Linked DNA regions of Homo sapiens: region 1 is linked to region 2. The links are contacts of gene promoters, found by promoter capture Hi-C in human tissues and cell types (Jung and others, 2019). All regions are on one chromosome and are shown on one strand. Each heading gives the region's core, a stretch centred on a gene start or on the middle of the fragment in contact. The rest is flanking DNA. Distances are from core to core; before and after follow the strand shown.

The links. Contacts are between HindIII fragments. The study calls those that stand out against the background at their distance.
Region 1: a fragment that was not itself captured here is called in contact with the fragment with the promoter of CCL13 in region 2 in 2 of the 25 tissues and cell types used here (mesenchymal stem cells and spleen).

The regions. Positions count from the first base shown.
Region 1 is chr17:34,144,238-34,148,595 of GRCh38, forward strand. It overlaps a transcript of ASIC2 not described here. Among named protein-coding and RNA genes, the nearest start is that of LINC01989, 37 kb to the right of the region's middle. The HindIII fragment of the contact is 5,486 bases long and covers 1-4,358 here.
Region 2 is chr17:34,353,276-34,357,877 of GRCh38, forward strand. CCL13 (C-C motif chemokine ligand 13) reads left to right here and starts at 3,205. Exons shown (of 3, transcript NM_005408.3): 1 at 3,205-3,327; 2 at 4,200-4,314. The coding sequence starts at 3,252. The HindIII fragment of the contact is 2,821 bases long and covers 2,278-4,602 here.

The DNA of each region.
Region 1 (4,358 bases), core at 567-3,066, 210 kb before region 2:
TATGTGCTCAGAAAATGTTAGCCATTATTAACAGGTTTTGTAAGCTACACAATGATGAACAAATAAAAGAACTTTTATTTGTGACAAGACCTGCATGTCTATAGTAGCTTAGGCTCAACTATAATAGCAGGAGCTGGGTCCCTGGCTTGATCACAGCCTCATTCCCCATACTTTCTGGGGACTTCCTGATACTACACTGTCAATATAGATTTCCAAAAAATCGTCTTGCTCCTGGATCTCCTGTCACTATGTTGTATCACCAGCTCATCTTAGTAATAATAATAGTAACAACAGTAACAAAACAGCTGACATTCCACATCTGGGATAACTTTTAAAGTTTTACTTATATTATTTCACTCAATTGCTGCAAACAATCCTATGGGGTACCAGTATTATTATTATTATTTAATAGATGAGGATATTGAAGTCTGGAGGTGTTAAGTAATTTGTACAAGGTCAGGGAAACCTGGAACCTACACCTGTCTGGCACTAAATTCCATGATTGTACCACGAGGCCAAAATACCTCATTATGTTATTATCTCAAGTGCCAGAGCTCTTCATTCTTCCAACATTTGCCAAGCTCCCCAAGCTCAGATATCCCTTTGTTGTCTGTTATCAGTGCTCCTGGGCAGGACATTCTCTCTGCCAGATTAGCCTCCTTCCAAACTCCTATAGCTGGGTCTATCTCTAGCCATACTAAACCTAGAGTTATCTCTAGTCCATAAACCTCTCAGTCTCTGCAGCCCTCCACATGGAACCCGGCCATGCCCAACCACAACCCAAGATTTGCTCTCTAGGGTTGGCTCTAGCTCCCAGAATTTATGACAAATTCCTCTGGGAACTGCCTCTTGAGGAGCCATCCATACACACTTTAGGATGCCCAGGTCATTTAACAGCCCCTTCAATCCTTGGCTTCCACCAGCCACCCACTTCCCACACTTTCTCTGGATGAACTGAAATATCCACTCTTTTGTGTCTACAGTCTCATATGGCACCATTCTTATTCCTGACTTCTGAGACACTTAGCTTCAAGACTACACAGTATTGGGAAATGGGGTGATTCTGCAGTCTGGATGTGCTGGATTGCATCTATTATCAGTTTTTTTTCCAGTGCTATCTGCCAATGTCCCTCACCTCTGACCCCAACTATCTGTGCAGGAAGGAAATAAAGACTCTCAGAGTTGGAAGTAACTTTAGAGGTCATTAAATCCAACCCTTTACCTGACATTGATCCACATCTGCAGCATTGCCAATAAGCAATTGTCTGGCCTCAGCTAGAGCTGATGGCAGGGTACAGGGTGCTCTAGACTCCTAGGACAACTCCTTCTAGTCTGCCGATATCCACTTATCTAAACTTTTACCCACACATTGGTGCTAGCTCTGCTCCCTGGCTTCACACAGAGAAAGTCACATTCCTCTTCTCTATGATTGCCTTCGAAGTGTTTTAAAACAGCTCTCATATTGCCCGTGAGCCACCCACTTCGCTTTTCATGCTAAGCTGTCTGAGTTCTTTCATACGCTCCTCATCGCTCGTGGTTTCTGTGACATATGAGGAGCATCACCTCTGGTCAGCCATACATCTCTCACTGCCTTCTACTTTATTGATGGGCCCAGGACACTGCCAACATCAAATGCATAGCCTCCTCTTCATGGCTTGAAGCCAGGCTGATGCACATTCAGGAAGAAATGGAAGTGAAGGCTGGTAGAAGGGTAGGAAAGGGAAGTTTTCAGAGAGAGCAAACTTAGGAAATGAGAATGCAGGTGCTGATAAAAGTGTATGCTAGAATGTGAGCAGCTGAGAGTCACGTAACAGCTGGGAGAATGGGTATGGCTCAGCTCTTCGGAGAAGGGAAACCTTGGGAAGGGCTTTCTTTGGGCAAACAACTCTAAGGGGAACAAACCAGCTGTGCTTAGAGTAGTGAATCCCAATCAGAGAGATGCTCATTTGAGTTATGAGGGCCACCCTTGGGAATTGTTATCGCCGTCTTGAGTTGAAAACACAGATTTTGAAAGTCCCAGGTTTAAAAGATTTTTGAAAAAGGTATTTTTTTCTTTCTAAACCAGACTTAGGTCCACATGCCTAGACTATTGTCCATGTTACCATATGGATAAAAAAGCTAAAACTAATCAATACACAGGTTGGGTTCCCTATCAGAGCCTGAGATGGCACACCTTCTACAGGTGATTTATTGAGGGAGTGTTCTCATAAAAAGCCTAGAAGCGGGAAGGGGAAGGTAGGGCGGGGGAAAAGGTAAGCATGAATGTGGTTTCAGGAGAAGTCCAGCTCAGCCTGATCCCACGGGAAACACTGAGTGTAAACTGCACCACAATGTATTCCATCTTGAGGTGAGATGACTGGCATTTCCTAATCCTGTCAGTCAGTCACTGGCCACTGGCTGCCCCCAGGTGGTGGGGAGGTGAATAACTTCCCAGGTATCTCCAGAAGAGGCAGCACCTGTCAACCAAGGGCCAGCCTCCCCACGAAGGGGACTGATTAAGCTGTTATGTGCTCTACCTACAGGTGCAGTAAAGAGGATCTGGGCTGACCAACAGTGTCTTCCACAGATACACTTGCTAATTCACGCATGGAAGACCCAGAGTGTATCACTCCCCTCAACTGCTGGACTACTGTGCTGCAAACTTTGAGTCAGAATGATGAGCTTCAGTCAGGCATATCATGGCTCCTGAACAGGATTTTGAGAGCAAGATTCTGTGCCTCCCTCATCCTGCTGCAGCCTCTCAGTGCATCTAGGTGTTTCTGCTTCCATTGTACATATCTATCAAAATAAAATTGTTATAATTAAACAAACAAATAAATAGATAAATAGATCTGGTGGCAAATGAGCAGCAACTCCTCCCCACTCCCAACATAAGTTAAAGTTTGAGTTTCAGCAACAGATGTAGGATCAGAAAACAAATGTTTAATATGTTCTGTTGCATTAGAGCGGTACAGGTTGGCAAGTCCTTAGAAACCACCTAATTCCACCCCTTCATTTTACAGATAAGCAAACTGAGGCCCATTGAGGCTTATTACCTTCCCAAAGGTTGTGCAACTAAATCTACAGAGGTCATAAATCCAGGCAAATACGTTGCTTCTGTTTTATATGCTTAATTTCTTCTGAGCATAAATTTCAATGGCTACTGAGGCAATCAATAGAGAATATATCGAAATCAGAAGAAAATAAGTACTGGGAGATGGAAAGATGCTTCAGCATCCAAAGAATGGCACTTTGGGGAATGCTGTCCTCAAATAAAGCCCAACCTGATAAACAGGCTTTTATCAGAGAATTTCAATTTATCAAATAATAACCATGTAGTATTTCTGAGCATTGGAGACAGCTGCTATCCAGCAACCCCTAAGCCCAGTCTGTATGGTTTTAAGTCAAATGCATGAGTGAAATATGATATATGGAGTTTCAAACTGGGAGGGGTGATGTAGGCTTGGTCTCAGGTTGTAATAGATCATGGGTCAAATGGCCTTGCTGGTCAAGGTAGATATTTTAACTCAGCTCCATCAAACATAAACATCCTACAAAAAAGAGAAAGCACACAGCAAATTTTCAGGTCTCTCTAGACTCAGGTGGTATCGTTTTAGTCTCATGGAGGGAATGGGGTGCGTGGCACTTTGACATATGGGCTGCTCTATGGAGCACCACCTCTAATGGCAAACTTAGTGCTAAATGCTACCAATTCGGTCTTTGGGAGATTTTTTAATGGGACCACATCTCAGCTCTTACAAAAGAAATCAGTAGCAAACTAGGATTCACTTTACCAAAATTTTGTTAAATTCATCTCTTCATTAATGGAAGAACTTTCTATAGAGAGGAAAAGAGAACTACAATACAGAGGAGGAAAGGAACCAACACCCCAGCCAATAAGCTTCCAGGTAGCCTTCTAAGCAGTTCTGGATGTCTAAAATCTTCCAGAGAAAGAGACACAGACATGCACATTCACCCAACAATCAACTAGGCATTATTTAGGAACTTGTGCAGTAGCTTCAGTTTTTTCTTTGCAAGTAGACATTGTGGGTCATCAAAATAGTCAGCTCTCAGTCATTGTCTTACCCCTTCATCACATCAGAAAGAATTTTATATACCCCTGAAAGCACGACTTCCAGAGAGCTTACAGCTTAAAGTTCTAAACTGGAAGATCCCAAACGGAGGCTGACATTATGGAAAACTTGCTTAGCTTGACAAAGGTTGCCCCCATAAGGGCATGCCAAATGTTCGCAAGACTTCAGAGCATCCTAAGGAATATGAAAAATCATCTATTTTGCATTAGTTACAATTTAGGCCATTTTGACATAGAATCTAGAGACTTTACAGACGGGAGAGTCAGGATCTACATCTGTGTGCTG
Region 2 (4,602 bases), core at 1,955-4,454:
GTTAAAGCAGTCTGCCATGCTACTACTGGTGGTAATTAAAGTAATCATGATATGTTGACAGATCCTATTCCTGTGCCCCTTTCCATGGTGCACCTAAAACATACGAGCAATCCAATCCCAGAATCCCATTTGGAAGTTCTATTTTATGGGGCCAATTCAATGTCAGTAAGTGTCCCAGCAAGAAATAGATAACACTTAAAATGGAAGACTTGGAGAAAGGTTTAGTAAAGAAGCTATTTACAAAGATGTAAGTGGGTGAAAAGAGACCACAGGGGTGTTTGGTACCATGAGGCTATTAAGAACATGGTTAGACTGCAAAAAATTTCTCCAGTTCTGTAGGATATCTGTTCACTCTGATGATAGTTTCTTTTGCTGTACAGAAGCTCTTTAGTTTAATTATATCCCATTTGCCAATTTTTGCTTTTGTTGCAATTGCTTTTGACATTTTCATCATGAAATCTTTTCCTGTGCCTATGTTTTGAATGGTATTGCCTAGAGTTTCTTCTAGGGTTTTTATAGTTTTGGGTTTTACATTTAAGTCTTTAATCCATCTTGATTTCATTTTTGTATGAGGTGTAAGGAAGGGGTCCAGTTTCAGTGTTCTGCATACGGCTAGCCAGTTTTCCCAGCACCACTTATTAAATAGGGAATCCTTTCTCCATTGCTTATTTTTGTCAGGTTTGTCAAAGATCAGATGGTTGTAGATGTGTAGTCTTATTTCTGAGATCTCTATTCTGTTCCATTGGTCTGTGTGTCTGTTTTTGTACCAGTACCATACTGTTTTGGTTACTGTAGCCTTGTAGTATAGTTTGAAGTCAGGTAGCATGATACCTCCAGCTGTGTTCTTTTTGTTTAAGATTGTCTTGGCTATTCCACTGCGGCCTCTCAGGGAGTGAGGGAAAGGGAGAGCGTCAGGATAAATAGCTAATGTGGATGGAGCTTAATACTTGGGTGAGGGGTTGATAGGTGCAGCAAACCACCATGGCACATGTTTACCTATGTAACAGACCTGCACATCCTGCGCATGTATCCCAAAATTTAAAATAAAATAAAAATTTTTTAAAAAGAACATGGTTATATTCCTAAATCTAAAAAGGAAAAACAGGGGATAGCTCAGCAAACCTGGATAGGAGAGTCATGGAGAAACCACCTTGAAAGAAGTTAAAACCATTAGTTGAGGGATGTATCCAGGTTGAGGAACACAGGGAGACAACAGAGGAGAAGAACCTCAACTTAACTCTTCTCCCTGCTCTAATGTCCTCAGAAGCTCCCTTGTGCCTAAACCCAGTCAGAAGCTAGAAGGTCAGCAACCTCACTGATGTAACCCACCAAGATTGGCTTCCTAGGGCAGAGAATAGAATGGAAAAGAATGGAATGTGTGTCTGAAGGGACAAGCTTATAATATCCTTTTCTCAGGTGAGTCTTGACACATTTTTGTGTCAAAGTTAGGTAGGTCTCAAAATGAATTGAGTGGTGTACAATCTTTTGATATTCTCTGGAAGAGATTGCACAAGATTGAAATGACCACTTCCTTCAGTGCTTGGAGGAATTAGCTGTTTGTGCCCTTTGAGCCCAGAGAATGTTTTGTGGGAAGATTTTCAATTCCTGATTCCATTTCTTTAATAGCTTTAGAATGACTTTCTATTTTTTATTTATTTGTGCACCCTGGTCAGTTAGATTTTTAAGAAATTCATCCATTTCCTCTAAACTAAATTTTTGGCATAAGGTTCTTATCATTTTCTTTTTGGTGTCTGCAGGCTCTGCAACTGGTTATATGTACCTTTTTCCTTTTTTCTTTTCTTTTTTTTTTTTTCTGGGACAGAGTCCTACTCTGTCACTCAGACTGGGGTGCAGTGGTGCAATCTTGGCTCACTGTAACCTCGGCCTCCCAGGTTCAAGCAATTCTCCTGCCTCAGCCTCCCAAGTAGCTGGGATTACAGGCATGTGCCACCATGCCTGGGTAATTTTTGTATTTTTTTTAGTAAAGACAGGGTTTTACCATGTTGTCCAGGCTGCTCTAGAACTCTTGACCTCAAGTGATCCCCCCGCCTCAGCCCCTTTTTTCTTTTTTTTTTCATTTTCAGTTCAGGAGAGTTTTAGCTTAATTATAGGCTACAGAACCAGCTTTGGGCTTCATCTATCCTTTCTAATATTTACTGTTTCCTATTTCTCTAATCCTAGCTCTTTATTTCTTCCCTTTACTTTCACTGGGCTTATTTTGCTATAGTGGAATGCAGAGGGATGAGTATTCCAGGAAGGCACAAAAACTGTGCCAAGTCTTGGAGCTAGGGATGAGTGGGAAAGGGACATGTTCAACCATTTTAAGCCATTCCCTCCCCACCTCCCAGCTCCCAGATATGTGCCCCTCGCAGGAGGAGCCCAGGAATGGGCCAAACACCTCACTTCTTTGCTCTGAGGGCCACCCCAGCCCTCCCATCAACAGCTCTAGAAACCCAATGGTCCTTCCTGGAAACACGGGGCCTGCATCAATCAGAGGTGTTTGAACCATGTCCCTCTGGGCCTGAGGGGCAGAAGGGGACACAATATGTAATGTAAGGAGCCCCTGTCATCAGAAATCTGACTTAATCTGTTTCAGATATTAGACTTCCACATAAAAGTTGACTTGGAAAAAGACTTCTGCTGCTAAACAAAAGTTGAAACTGCCTTGGTGATAAAATATAAGCAGACCAGCTTTCTCTTCTAGCTTTCCCTCTCATTTCCCATAAGATTTTGGTCAAGTTATTTAATCTCTCTGCATCCGTTTCCTCTTCTATGAAATGGGCATGATAATAATGGTATGTACCTCCTCAAACTAAATATATAACGTGAACAGAGTCCTTAGCACAGCACTCTTTCTCTACAGGAGTTAATTTTCATTGTTTTTCTCTTTCCTGTTGGAGAAAGTAAGAAGAAAACAGCTCCTTTATGGCTTCCCATGGTGAATGGCTGGGGCGCGTCTGTGTCCCTTTCTCCTCTCTGGCTCCTTGTGGCCTGAACAGCCAGAAGGAAGCCATGCCATGCTGTTTCAGCCCTCAGCTTCCCTCTTGCATTTCCTAGAAAAGTCTTTGGTGCCCAGCTCCAGCTCAGCAGATTCAGGATCCCCCTTCATCATGACTTGGTCAACGCCCTGCTCAGGCCAAGGTCCTCTGAGAGTTCCAAGCTTCTCCACTCCCTATAAAAGGCCGGCGGAACAGCCAGAGGAGCAGAGAGGCAAAGAAACATTGTGAAATCTCCAACTCTTAACCTTCAACATGAAAGTCTCTGCAGTGCTTCTGTGCCTGCTGCTCATGACAGCAGCTTTCAACCCCCAGGGACTTGCTCAGCCAGGTAAGTCACCTCCCTTCGACTCTCCCTCTCTTTCCCTCTGTTTCTCTATTCAAGGAAGACCTAAGCCCGAGTGCTCCTCCACTTTTTTTTTAGATTGAGTCTCATTATGTTGCCCAGGCTGAAGTGCAGGGGTGCGATCTTGGCTCATTGCAACCTTCACCTCCCAGGTTCAAGCGATTCTCTTGCCTCAGCCTTCTGAGTAGCTGTGATTACAGGCACCCGCCATCACGTGCAGCTAATTTTTGTATTTTTAGTAGAGAAGGGGTTTCACTATGTTGGCCAGGCTGGTCTCAAACTCTTGACCTCAAGTGATCCTCCCGTCTCGGCCTCCCAAAGTGCTGGGATTACAGGCGTGAGCCACCAGGCCCAGCCAAGTGCCCCACTTCTAAGCCCACCAGAATAGTAAGGCTCCTCAGAGGTTCACTTTAACATCTAATTTTAAAGATAGAAAGCTGAAGCCCATGTTGGAGGCAGAAGGGACCCTAGCCATCCACCTCCAGGTTATTGCAGAGCAAGAATGAAACCTAAGCTTCTGACTCCAGATTTAGGGCCTTTTCTTTGACCTCATCTGATCGTCCCAAACTCTGCAGATCTGGGACCACACCCAGGACCTTTCCCACTGGCCTTGCCCGTGGCCTCCCCTAGATGGCTGTGACATGTCTCCACCATGCAGCTGAGCCTTTGAGATCCTGAGGCACATGTCACAGGTCCCACCTCACCTCAGGGTCTAGGGTGGGAGTGCTGGGCTTGGGGGTGAGTAAGATCTATTTCTTCCTCTTTGCTTTGCATCCCATACAGATGCTCCCTGCTGTATTCAAGCTGAGAAAAGCCTAACACATCCTCAAAGTCTTTTTCTTTGTAACTATTTCTAGATGCACTCAACGTCCCATCTACTTGCTGCTTCACATTTAGCAGTAAGAAGATCTCCTTGCAGAGGCTGAAGAGCTATGTGATCACCACCAGCAGGTGTCCCCAGAAGGCTGTCATGTGGGTAGAAAAATCCCTGCTCACCTGGCTCCTCCCCACTCCCACATTCCCCAATCCAAAGTTCTGCCCCAGGAGACAGACGTCAGACTGACTTGAGATCTTAGGATGAGATCTAGCCAGACTGTGTGATGCAAATCCTCCAATTTTGGCTGCACAACAGGTCCAAAGAGGACCTATAATTTCCCACACCTTGTTTCCTGGATGGGCACCAGCCCACACCCTTTAGCAGATGCCAGGATCAGTTTCCCAGGGGCAGCAAGAGCAGTGGCTGCCTCCAGAGACCCCTTC